Linked DNA regions of Homo sapiens: region 1 is linked to region 2. The links are contacts of gene promoters, found by promoter capture Hi-C in human tissues and cell types (Jung and others, 2019). All regions are on one chromosome and are shown on one strand. Each heading gives the region's core, a stretch centred on a gene start or on the middle of the fragment in contact. The rest is flanking DNA. Distances are from core to core; before and after follow the strand shown. Region 1 has its middle 63 kb from the start of ZFP64. Region 2 holds the start of ATP9A (ATPase phospholipid transporting 9A (putative)).

Evidence for each region. The method cuts DNA at HindIII sites, captures the fragments that hold promoters and counts their contacts. A contact is called where the count stands out against the background at its distance.
Region 1: a fragment that was not itself captured here is called in contact with the fragment with the promoter of ATP9A in region 2 in 1 of the 25 tissues and cell types used here (heart right ventricle).

What each region holds. Positions count from the first base shown.
Region 1 is chr20:52,126,273-52,131,984 of GRCh38, reverse strand. It overlaps a transcript of ZFP64 not described here. Among named protein-coding and RNA genes, the nearest start is that of ZFP64, 63 kb to the left of the region's middle. The HindIII fragment of the contact is 3,788 bases long and covers 475-4,262 here.
Region 2 is chr20:51,764,856-51,770,615 of GRCh38, reverse strand. ATP9A (ATPase phospholipid transporting 9A (putative)) reads left to right here and starts at 2,226. Exons shown (of 28, transcript NM_006045.3): 1 at 2,226-2,314. The coding sequence starts at 2,247. The HindIII fragment of the contact is 32,964 bases long and covers 1-5,760 here.

The DNA.
Region 1 (5,712 bases), core at 1,119-3,618, 360 kb before region 2:
AGACTTGTTTTGTGACCTAACATATGGTCTATACTTGAGAATGATCCATGTGCTGAGGAAAAGAATGTGTATTCTGCAGCCATAGGATGAAATGTTCTGTAAATATCTACTAGATCCATTTAGTCTATAGTGCAGATTAAGTCCGATGTTTCTTTGTTGATTTTCTGTCGGGAAGATCTGGCAAATGCTGAAAGTGGGGTGTTGAAGTCTCCAGCTATTATTGTATTAGGGCCTAACTCTCTCTTTAGCTGTAATAATGTTTCTTTTATATATCTGGGTGCTCCAGAGTTGGATGCATATATATTTAAAACTGCGATATCTTTTTGCTGAATTCACCCCTTTATAAACATTATATATAGTGACCTGCTTTTCTTATAGTTTTTGTCTTGAAATGTATTTTGTCTGATTTAAGTATAGCTACCCCTGCTCTTTTTTGGTTTCCATTGGCATAGAATATCTTTTTCATCCCTTTATTTTTAGCCTATGTGTGTTTAGGGGAAGTGTGTTTCTTGTAGGCAGCAGATCAGTGGGTCTTGTTTTTTAATCTATTCAACCATTCCATGTCTTTTGATTGGAGACTTTAGTTCATTTACATTCAATGTTATATTATTGTTAAGTAAGGACTTGCTCCTGCCATTTTATTTGTTTTCTGCTTGTTTTGTGGCCTGCTTTTCTTTCTTCTTTTCTTGCTTTCTTTCTTTTCTTTCTTCTCTCTCTTTTCCTTTTTCTTTTTCTTCCTTCCTTCCCGTCCTTCCTTCTTTTCCTTTCTTCTTTTTCTTCTTTCCTTTCCTTCCCTCCTCCCTTTCTTTTCTTTCCTTCCCTCCTTTCCTTCCTTCCTGTTTTCCTTTCTTCCTGTCTTCCTCCCTTCCTTTAATGAAGATGAGAATCTGTATTTTATTTTATTATTATTCTTATTTTTGAGACAGAGTCTTGCTCTGTCGCCCAGGCTGGAGTGCAGTGGCCCAATCTTGGCTCACTGCAAGCTCTGCCTCCCAGGTTCACGCCATACTCCTGCTTCAGCCTCCTGAGTAGCTGGGACTACAGGCGCCCGCCACAATGCCTGGCTAATTTTTTGTATTTTTAGTAGAGATGGTGTTTCACCAGGATGGTCTCAATCTCCTGAGCTCGTGATCTACCCGCCTCAGCCTCCCAAAGTGCTGAGATTACAGGCATGAGCCACCACACTGGGCCGAGAATCTGTATTTTAAATTTGGCACCCTGGAGAGTGTTCTGATCTGAGTAATGTGGAAAATACTAAGATAAACAACTAGGGGCTAGAGATTGCAAGAGCCTGCCTGGTGTCACATGGCCATCAGCCCTAAGAAGTTTGATAAATGTTTCCTGAACACCTACTATAGGCTAGATGTTGTTCTGGAAACATGTGAAGTTTCCATGAGCAAAAAGGAAATGATCGTGACCTTATGGAATCTGCCTTCTCATAAGAGAAAACAGATAAATAATAAGCAGAATGGACGGGGTGCAGTGGCTCATATCTGTAATCCCAGCACTTTGGGAGGCCGAGGCAGGAGCATCGCTTGAGGCTAGGAGTTCAAGACCAGAGTGGACAACATAAGGAGACCCCCTCTCTACAAAAAATAAAAAGATTAGTCGGGTATGGTGGAACATTCCTGTAGTCTCAGCTACTTTGGAGGCTGAGGTGGGAGGATCACTTGAGCCTGGGCACTTGAGGCTGCAGTGAGCCATGATTGTGCCACTGCACTCCAGCCTAGGTGATAGAGCAAGATCCTGCCAAAAACAAACAAACAAACAAAACACAATTGTAGGCACCATATACAGTGTCTTAGAAGCTGGTAAGTGCCATGGCAGGGTGGAGGGACTGAGTATGATGAGGGAGAGGAGCCTGCGGGTCAGAGTAGTTCTCCCTAAGAAGTTGAGATTGGAACAAAGACTGGAATGAGGGAGTGAGGGAGCCATGTGGATCTCGAGAGGAACAGAGTTCCAGGCAAAGGGAATGCAAAAACCTTAAAGCAGGAACGTGGCCAGGGAAGAGTGAGCAAGGGAAAGAGGAGCAGGCAGCAGGAGTTTTTTGTGTGTCTGACATGTTTTATTATAATAATAAACAATAATGACGATTGCACTCATTCAGCAAAGATGAATTGCCCCGGGGCATACCATGGTGGTGACACAGGGCAGGCAGGATCCCTGCCCCCTGGGAGATTACAGTCTAGTTAGGCAGACAGGCGAGTTGTCACAACACATATGTGCTTTAATGGGATACAGAGGCACCATGAGGAACAGAAGCAGGCACCATGAGGAGCATCTGGGAACAGGCCTTCCCAGATTTAGGTCCAAGAGGCTGAAATGGGCCAGGGCCGGGGTGACCAGCACCTGAGCTGAGTCAAAATGCTACATAGGAGTTACACAATTGAAGACAAAGAACGGAGGAGTGAGGGAAATGAGCATTCTAAGGTGCACTGGACGTTAGGGCAGTCTGGAAAGACAGAGGGTATTTGTAATTGGAACATTTTTGCTAGAAGGAAAAAGGCAAATAAAAAAGGCTGGAGCGGCTGGGTACGGTGGCTCACACCTGTAATCCTAGCATTTTGGGAGGCCCAGGCAGGCAGACTGCCTGAGCTCAGGAGTTAAGAGACCAGCCTGGGCAACATAGCAAAACCCCATCTCTACTAAAAATACAAAAAAATTCCACCCTGGCTAACACGGTGAAACCCCATCTCTACTAAAAATACAAAAAAAAAAAGAAAAAAAGAAAAAAAATTCACCGGGCGTGGTGGTGGGCGCCTGTAGTCCCAGCTACTTGGGAAGCTGAGGCGGGAGAACGGCGTGAACCCGGGAGGCGGAGCTTGCAGTGAGCCGAGATCGCGCCACTGCTCTCCAGCCTGGGCAACAGAGCGAGACTCCATCTCAAGAAAAAAAAAAAAAAAATTAGCCAGGAGTGGTGGTGCGCGCCTGTAATCCCAACTACTCGGGAGGCTGAGGCAGGAAAATGGCTTGAACCTGGGAGGCGGAGGTAGCAGTGAGCCCAGATCGTGCCACTGCACTCCAGCCTGGGTGACAGAATGAGACTCCGTCTCAGAAAAAGAAAGAAAATTTAAAAAAAGGTCGGAGCTCCTTGTGGAGTGTTAGCTTCTGGAAATTTTGTTCATTTCTGGAAAAGAAATGCCACAGTTATACCATGTATATAAGACGATCGTGTAGTTTATCATCCAAGCTGGGGCACTTTTGAAAGTGGTAAAGACTGTGGGAGACCAGGTGGAAATCAGCCCTTGTTACTGACGGAAGACCAAGCTCAGAAGCTTTAGTAAAATGGTGACTAATGCTGCCCTCCAGTGGTGGAGTGCAGCAACTCAACACAAGGCAGTATAGAATTTCACCTCCCTCAGGTCAGTTTTCCAAGAATAACAAGTTAGGTGCCACAAAGCAGATCAGTTTGCTTTTTCCACCTAGCAGTTTAGGTATACATTTATTAATACTGTAAATGTGTCCATCTTTATCAATCTGTTCTCATCCCAGCTGTATGATTTTATTCCTGTTTTCAGGTTAGTTGCTATGGTAGGCTAGATAATGGTCTCAAATTCTGTCCTTTCTCCAGCTACAGAATATTTACCCACCTTGTCCATTGACATTATGGTGGGTGGGGCACCACCATAATGGGGCAAAGCCATTTGACTTGCTTTGGCCAATGGAATATCAGTGGACCTGATGGGAACAGGGGTATTATTATTATTATTTATAGAGAGAGTCTTGCTATGTTGCCCAGGCTGGTCTCAAACTCTTGGCCTCAAACAATCCTCCTGCCTTGGCCTCCCAAAGTGCTGTGATTAGAGGCGTGAGCCACCACATCTAGTCCAGGAACAGGGGCTTTCAATGTGGCTGTAGAATTTGACACAACCTCTTGCTCTGGAGTGATCTGCCTTAGAACAGATTCTGAGTAACTGATGGCCTAAACAGAAATGAACAGACACATGGAACACACCTCAATCCAAACCACAGCCCAGAGCCAAGCTCCACAGAGCCACAGTGAACCCACAGACCCGGGAAAAAAATAAATAAACATTTGTGTGGAAAACCACTGAGATTTTGAGGTCGTTGTATAGCAAAAACTGTCTTACACAGTAGTAGACTACCAGTGAATATCCTCAACTTATTATTTCCTACTGAGTTGCTGTAGACAGTGTTCAATATCTGGATAAGTGAAAATCACGTTTTCACTACAATACTGCTTTAAAGTCACTCTCAACACAAGTATGGTGAAAAAAAGGATTTGTCTTTGTAAAATTTCTTCCCATCCTGTCTTCTTGTCTTGCTTCCTGTATTAATCCATTTTCATACTGCTGTAAAGAATTGTGTGAGACTGAGTAATTTATAATGGAAAAAGGTTTAATCAACTCACAGTTCAGCATGGCTGGGGAGGCCTCAGGAAAGTTACAGTCATGGCAGAAGGCAAAGGGGAAGCAAGGCACCTTCTTCACAAAGAGGCAGGAAAGAGAAGTGCCGAGTGAAAGGGGAAGAGCCCCTGATAAAACCGTCAGCTCTTGTGAGAACTCACTATCATGAGAACAGCAGCCGCCCCCATGATCCAATTACCTTTACCTGGTCTCTCCCTTGACACGTGGGGATTATGGGAATCATAATTCAAGATGAGATTTGGGTGGGAACACAAAGCCTAACCATATCACTTCCTTTAAAAAAAAAAATCTTCCCTTTAAAAGAAAAAATTTCTAACCGTATCACTTCCTTTAAAAAAAAAATTCTGGGCCAGGCGTGGTGGCTCACAACTGTAATCCCAGCACTTTGGGAGGCCGAGGCCGGCGGATCATGAGGTCAGGAGATTGAGACCAGCCTGGCCAACATGGTGAAACCCCGTCTCTACTAAAAATACAAAAATTAGCTGGGTGTGGTGGCGCACGCCTGTAGTCCCAGCTACTCAGAAGGCTGAGGCAGGAGAATTGCTTGAACCTGGGAAGTGGAGGTTGCAGTGAGCTGAGATCACACCACTGCACTCCAGCCTAGTGACAGAGCAAGACTGTCTTAAAAAAAAAAAAAATTCTGACAAAGCCTAACCATATCACTTCCTTTAAAAAAAAAAAAAAAATTCTTTCCACTGACGGAAAACCTACCCATAAGAGTCCCCACCCAATTTGCCCACCACCTGTTTGCCTCCATATGGGTGTCTTTCATTAAAGGCACCATTTTCCCTATTGGCTCTAAGACTCAGCACCTCACAGGAGACGGTGCATAAAAGGCATAAGATGTTGGAGATGCCTAAGCTTTTATGAGACTTTACATAAAATCCTAAAGAGAATTCTATTCATTTTGTGCCAAATCTAAGTTACCATGTATCTCCAGAAGGAGAGTCAGACTTCAGATTAATTTGAAAGATTGATATGTTGAATGCTCAATGAGAATTTAAATTTTTCTCAGTATTAAAATTTCTTGTACCCAACCAACAGTCATCTTTATAGGGCATCTTTCAACCTAGTCTGGTGTAGAAAGCATAGACGCACCCAGATTACCTTTAAGCAGGCAGGTGCTGTCATTCAAAGACCTTTTAAGCCTGAGTTGTAGTTTTAAACAGGCCCATGAAGAACTAGAATGATTGACAGTAGAGGGTAATGGTTAAGCAAAGGGTTCTGAAGTCAGAAAGAACTGGGTTGAAATTCCAGCTCCACATCTTCCCAGGTGTCTGACCCAGATGCGTGAAATAACTTCCCGAATTTCAGTTTCTTCTTC
Region 2 (5,760 bases), core at 977-3,476:
GGGTTTCACCATGTTGGCCAGGCTGATCTCGAATGCCTGACCTCAAGTGATCCGCCCACCTCGGCCTCCCAAAGTGTCAGGATTAGAGGTGTGAGCCACCGCGCCCGGCCTCCTTGGTCTTCTCTTGTACCCTGTGTAGTAGTGGGGTTGAGAAGAGGGTGTGGAGTTTGAAAGGGGGATGTCTAGCAAAGCAGATGGGAGATGGTGGGACCCACACTGATGCCATAATTGGTGTGTCAGGGTGTTTATCCTTCTTCCATGCAAGAAGCCTTTATTGAGTGCCAACTTGTGCCATGCTATGTACGAAGCATCATTTTAGATGTAGAAGAGACAGCAGGAAGCAAAGCACACCAGGCCTGTTGGCTGGAGAATGCTATTTCCTCTCCAAATGTGCAATGCAGCAATTACTAATGACATGCTTCTTTTCTTGAGGAACTTCTCTGGTGCATGAGATAAGTCACACTTCTTGGTTTGAGATCCACCTCAGACACTGGGATATTTGGTGGCTCCATCCTGTGTGACAGCAAACACAAAAGGCATCCACTTGCTGGCAGTTAGCACTAACTTAAAAAAACAAACAAATAAAACAAAATAAAAGGGCCAAGCGCAGTGGCCCGTGGGAGCAGGGAAAGGCTTCTGGTGAGAGTTGGAAAGGTGGACTGGGCCGGATGCTCTTCCTTCATCCCAATTAAATCTCTATGGCATTTAGCAAATGCCAAGGAAGAGCCCAGCACTTTGGGAGGCCGAGGTGGACAGATCACATGAGGCCAGGAGTTCAAGACCAGTCTGGCCAACATGGTGAAACCCCATCTCTACTAAAACTACAAAAATTAGCCAGGCACATGTATAACCCCAGCTACCCGGGTAGCTGAGGCAGGAGAATTGCTTCAACCTGGGAGGCAGAGATTGCAGTGAGCTGAGATTTTGCCACTGCACTCCAGCCTGGGCGACAGAGGGAGATTCTGTTTCAAAAAGAAAAAAAAGAAACGGCGTCCAACATGATCAGTCATTAGATGTAACTATGTAAAAGTCAGCTTTAGATTAGTTTATATGGTATTATTACAATTTCAGGCTCTTTAGTTACATATTGATTTTTAAACTCCCTCACTTTGTTCCTTCCCTCTGTTTTTTTTTTCCTGCTCTCATAACTTTATCAGGCCTTTGAAAAGTTCATGGGTCCCAGACACTGTGTGGGAGGGTGTGGAAGTGAGTGTGGATGTGGGCTGCGGTGGAGATAGGTGTGTGTGTGAGACCGTGAATCACAGTGACAGGTAATGCAGGGTGACTGTCTGAGGCCTGAGAGTGGGGCCCATGTGCAAGCCCAAGAAAGTGGCTGGTGTGAGAATGAGGGTGTTCAGACTATTGAAGGGTGTTTGGATGAAAGAGGCAGGTGCGTGTGTGTCATGGTGAGTTCCCAGAATCCAGATAGAGAATGAGGGTGAGGATGGTGAAGGTCAGAGGGTGAAGGAGTCTGATAAGCTGAGGGTCCCTGTGTGACTGTGATTTCTGCAGGCACATGGGTGTGAGGCTTGAGAAACTGGGTGCATGGATGATGGTGACCAACAGGAGGGTGAGAGTGTTATGTGTGTGTGCAGGACTCACATGTGATTGTGAATGTTAGATGTTGCAGGCAGTGAGCAGTGGCAGGTGTGTGTGTAGGGCCTGGGCGTGAATATGCACGTTGGTGCAAGAGTGAGTGAGAATGACTGACTGATGGGGTGAGCGTGGCCGGGTGCCCGTGTGATTGTGCATGTCAGATATTGGTGGGGATGAGTGTCACAGCGCGCGTGTATAGGGCTGGGATGTGATTGTGAATGTGGGATTTTGCGGGGGGTGCGGTGGCAGGGTGCGCGCACGGCGGGCGTGGGCGGGGGGCGCGTGGCCGGGTGGGCGCGCGTGGGGGGCGCGGGCGCGGGCCGGGGGCGGGGACACTGCAGCGGTCGCGGCGGCGCGGACACGGCCCGGCCGCCCCCCGTGGCAGGCGCGGCGCGGCGCGGAGCGAGCGGGCGCAGCGCGGAGCTCGGGCCCATGGTGCGCCCGTGTCCGTCGGTCGGGCCGCGCGGGCGCTCCGCGCGTGGCCCGGCGCTCGCGAGCTCGCCCCCTCGCTGCGGGCCCGGCCCGCCCGCTGCCGCCGCCTCCTCCCCCGGGGCGGCGCGGCGCCGGCGGGCGGCGGCGCGGAGGCCGGACCGGGCGGCGGCCCAGGCGGCGCGGGGGGCGCGGCGGCCAAGGCGGGCGGCGCCGCCGACATGACGGACAACATCCCGCTGCAGCCGGTGCGCCAGAAGAAGCGGATGGACAGCAGGCCCCGCGCCGGGTGAGTGGGCCTGGGCCCGTGTTTTCCTTTGTCCGCGCCTCCCGGAGCCCGGCGCTCGGGCCAGCCTGGCCGGGCCTGACAGGTTGGCCGCGCGCCGCGCCCGGCGCCATGAGCCTGGGGCAGGGCTGGGGAGGCGGGGAGGTGGGGAGGGGGTCCCTGCGCTTCAGCCCCGGGCGGCACCTAGCCTGATGCCGGCCCTTTGGGGTTCGAGCGCCCGGTTGCCTGGGCCTCCTTGCCCACCTTCCTTTAGAAACCCCGAGAAGCCGGGCCCGCCCCAGTGCTGTTTACACACTCGCGGAATTCGGATCAGCCGTGCTTTCTCACCGTTTTATTGTTCCGTAATTAATATCTGTCCGTAATTAATATCTGAGGTAACAATTTGGTCAGTGTCACACCGAGCTCTGCGCTTGGAGCATTACTCGGGAGCCCAGATATGCTCAGCTTTTAGGGGGGCGCGGCCTACGCCTCGGGGTACCCCATCAGCGCCCCTGGGTCCCAGCCCCAGGAGGCTGCGCCGAGACCACCTGCGCTCCGGTGGCCCCTTCCCCCTCCGCCCGGGGTGGACCCGAACCAGCAGTCGCAGGAGGGTGGGAGGGTCTCCTACTGGCCGCTTGGTGACACTACCCCTTGTGTTCTCCCCCCACAATTTCGGGGAAGGAATCCCACGGCTGGGACAGGGGCTGCCACCTGCTGTGCCCTTCCCGCAGTAGGAGACCCCGAGGGCAGCTTAGGCGCGGAACAGGCAAGGGTTTTTCTGCATTTGGGAAGAGGGGACGGGTTGGTATTTTGCGCCTCGCCGTCTTCCTGTTCGGAGGATGGCAGCGTGACGCGTTGAGGTTTGCGGGGCTCTCGTATCGCCTGCCATAGACTTACCTGGGCGTGAGGGGCGGGGGTGGGAAGGACGGGGGTGGGCGCTGGTGCAAATGCAGATTTCCCGGCCCCCGCCTAGACCCGCCAATCAGAGTTCTGGGGGGCGGGGCCTGGAGATGTGCAGCTCCACAGGCCGCGCAGGTGAGGCTGGAGCCCGCGGGAGGCTGAGCGCGGTGTTGGGCGGGGCCTGCGGCCGCTCTGCTCCGCCCTTCCTCGGGCGTCTGGTCCTCTCTGGGCATTTCCCGGTGGCGGCCGCTTATTGCAGCGTCAGTTGCTCGGAACAGGAGACGCGGCGGGTGGAGTGAACCATAAGGGTGGCTTCACCAGGTGTCAGTGGAATTAAAAAAAAAAAAAAAAAGAATGGTGCTGGCGGCCATTTTGTGGGGTCTTTGTCCCTGGCTTCCTGAATCCTCCGAAGAAGAGGCCTCACTGATATTACCCAGAGGAGGAAACTGGAGGTTACGGAGGTTAAGGGCTATAGGGAAGACTGCAAAATGGAGATTGAACTCCGGATTGTCTGACCCAAAGATAGTTCCCTCACTCCTCCCTTCTCTGTTTTGCGTTTATTATTATTAGTATTATTATTATTATTGAGACGGAGTCTCCCTCTGTTGCCCACGCTGGAGTGCTGTGGCGAGATCTCGGCTCACTGCAACCTCCGCCTCCCGGGTTCAAGCAATTCTCTGCCTCAACCTCCCGAGTAGCTGGGATTACAGGCGCCCGACACCACGCCTGACTAGTTTTTGTATTTTTAGTAGAGACGGGGGTTTCACCATCTTGGCCAGGCTTGTCTTGAACTCCTGACCTCGTGATCCACCCACCTCGGCCTTCCAAAGTGCTGGGATTACAGGCGTGAGTCACCGCGCCCGGCCTCCTTCGTTTTAATGATGACAATTGACTTGAACACTATGCCTGGAACAGTGCCTGGTACATCGTACATCCTCCGTAAATACTGTGATGAATTAATATGATCAGTGGAGTCTAAAATCCAGTGGTTATTAATTTGTGCCATGAGCAATTATGAGACGCCTACTATGTGCAGGAGCCACTCCAGCTGATGGGGATGCAAGGATGAATTAAAGAAGACCTGCCCAACAGGTGTGGGTGTCCTGACCCTGGCTGTTCATTGCAATCACCAGGGAAACTTAACTAGCCTTTTCTGATTCATTCTAGACCTTTGAAATAAGAATTTAGGGTGGGACCTGGGTTTCTATCTATATATTTTAATAAGCTCCCCTGATGATTTTAACATGCAGTCAGAGTTGAGAACTTTTGAGTCAGTACATGAAAGAAAAATGCAAATATTGTTCAAAAGTGATCATTAGCGTGATAGAAACATGAGCCGTTCATATGGAGAGCCAGAGGGAGTGGTGCAGATAATTTTATTTAAAAGTAAGTTTTCTAGGTTGCGTTGGAATGGAGCATCACAGCCCCTTTAGAATTTACCAGCTTTGGAACTAATCTTTCTTTTTTTTTGAGACGATGTAGTTTCACTCTTGTTGCCTGGAGTGCAATGCCTTGGTCTTGGCCCACTGCAACCTCTGCCTCCTGGGTTCAAGCGATTCTTCTGCCTCAGCTTCCCAAGTAGCTGGGATTACAGGTGCCCACTACCACTCCCGGCTAATCTTTGTATTTTTAGTAGAGAGAGTTGTTTCACCATGTTGGCCAGGCTGGTCTTGAACTCCTGACCTCAGGTGATCCACCTGCCTTGGCCTCCGAAAGTGCTGGGATTACAGACGTGAGCCACCGTGCTTGGCCTGGAACTAATCTAATTCTGTTTTTTTTTTTTGAGATGTAGCTTCACTCTTGTTGCCAAGGCTGGCACGATCTCGGCTCACTGCAACGTCCGCATTCCAGGTTCAAGCGATTCTCCTTGAATCAGCCTCCTGAGTAGCTGGGATTACAGGCATGCACCATGCCCGGCAAATTTTGTATTTTTAGTACAGATGGGGTTTCTCCATGTTGGTCAGGCTGGTCTCGAACTCCTTACCTCAGGTGATCCACCCACCTTGGCCTCCCAAAGTGCTGTGATTACAGATGTGAGCCACTGTGTCTGGCCAATCTATTTCTTAAACAGTGACATGGATTTGGATTCAAATTGTGTATCAGGGTTGCTGTGCATTTGCGTAAATGCTCTTGTATATAATCTGCATTTTCAGGAGTAGCAACATCAAGGTGGAATCCTGAAGTTTAGAAACTCTTGAGAAGCACAGAGAGATGGAGGAGCTTCCTGAAATAGAACTAGGGGCTGGGGGATGGCAGCGTGAGGGCTAAAGTGGGTGGGTGGTTAAAGGAAGAAAAAAGTAATATGTAATGGGTCAGGCTGTCTGCTGGACACTTGAGATAAATAGGGCTGTTTTAATCCTTACAACAACCATGTGAGTTTTTGGAGTTAATTCTCCCATTTTAGGGGCCAGATGTGGTGGTTCAAGCCTGTAATCCCAGCACTTTGGGAGGCCAAGGTGGGCGGATCACTCGAGGTCAGGAGTTCGAGACCAGCCTGGCCAACATGGTGAAACCCTGTCTCTACTAAAAATACAAAAATTAGCCGGGTGTGGTGGTGGTGCCTGTAATTC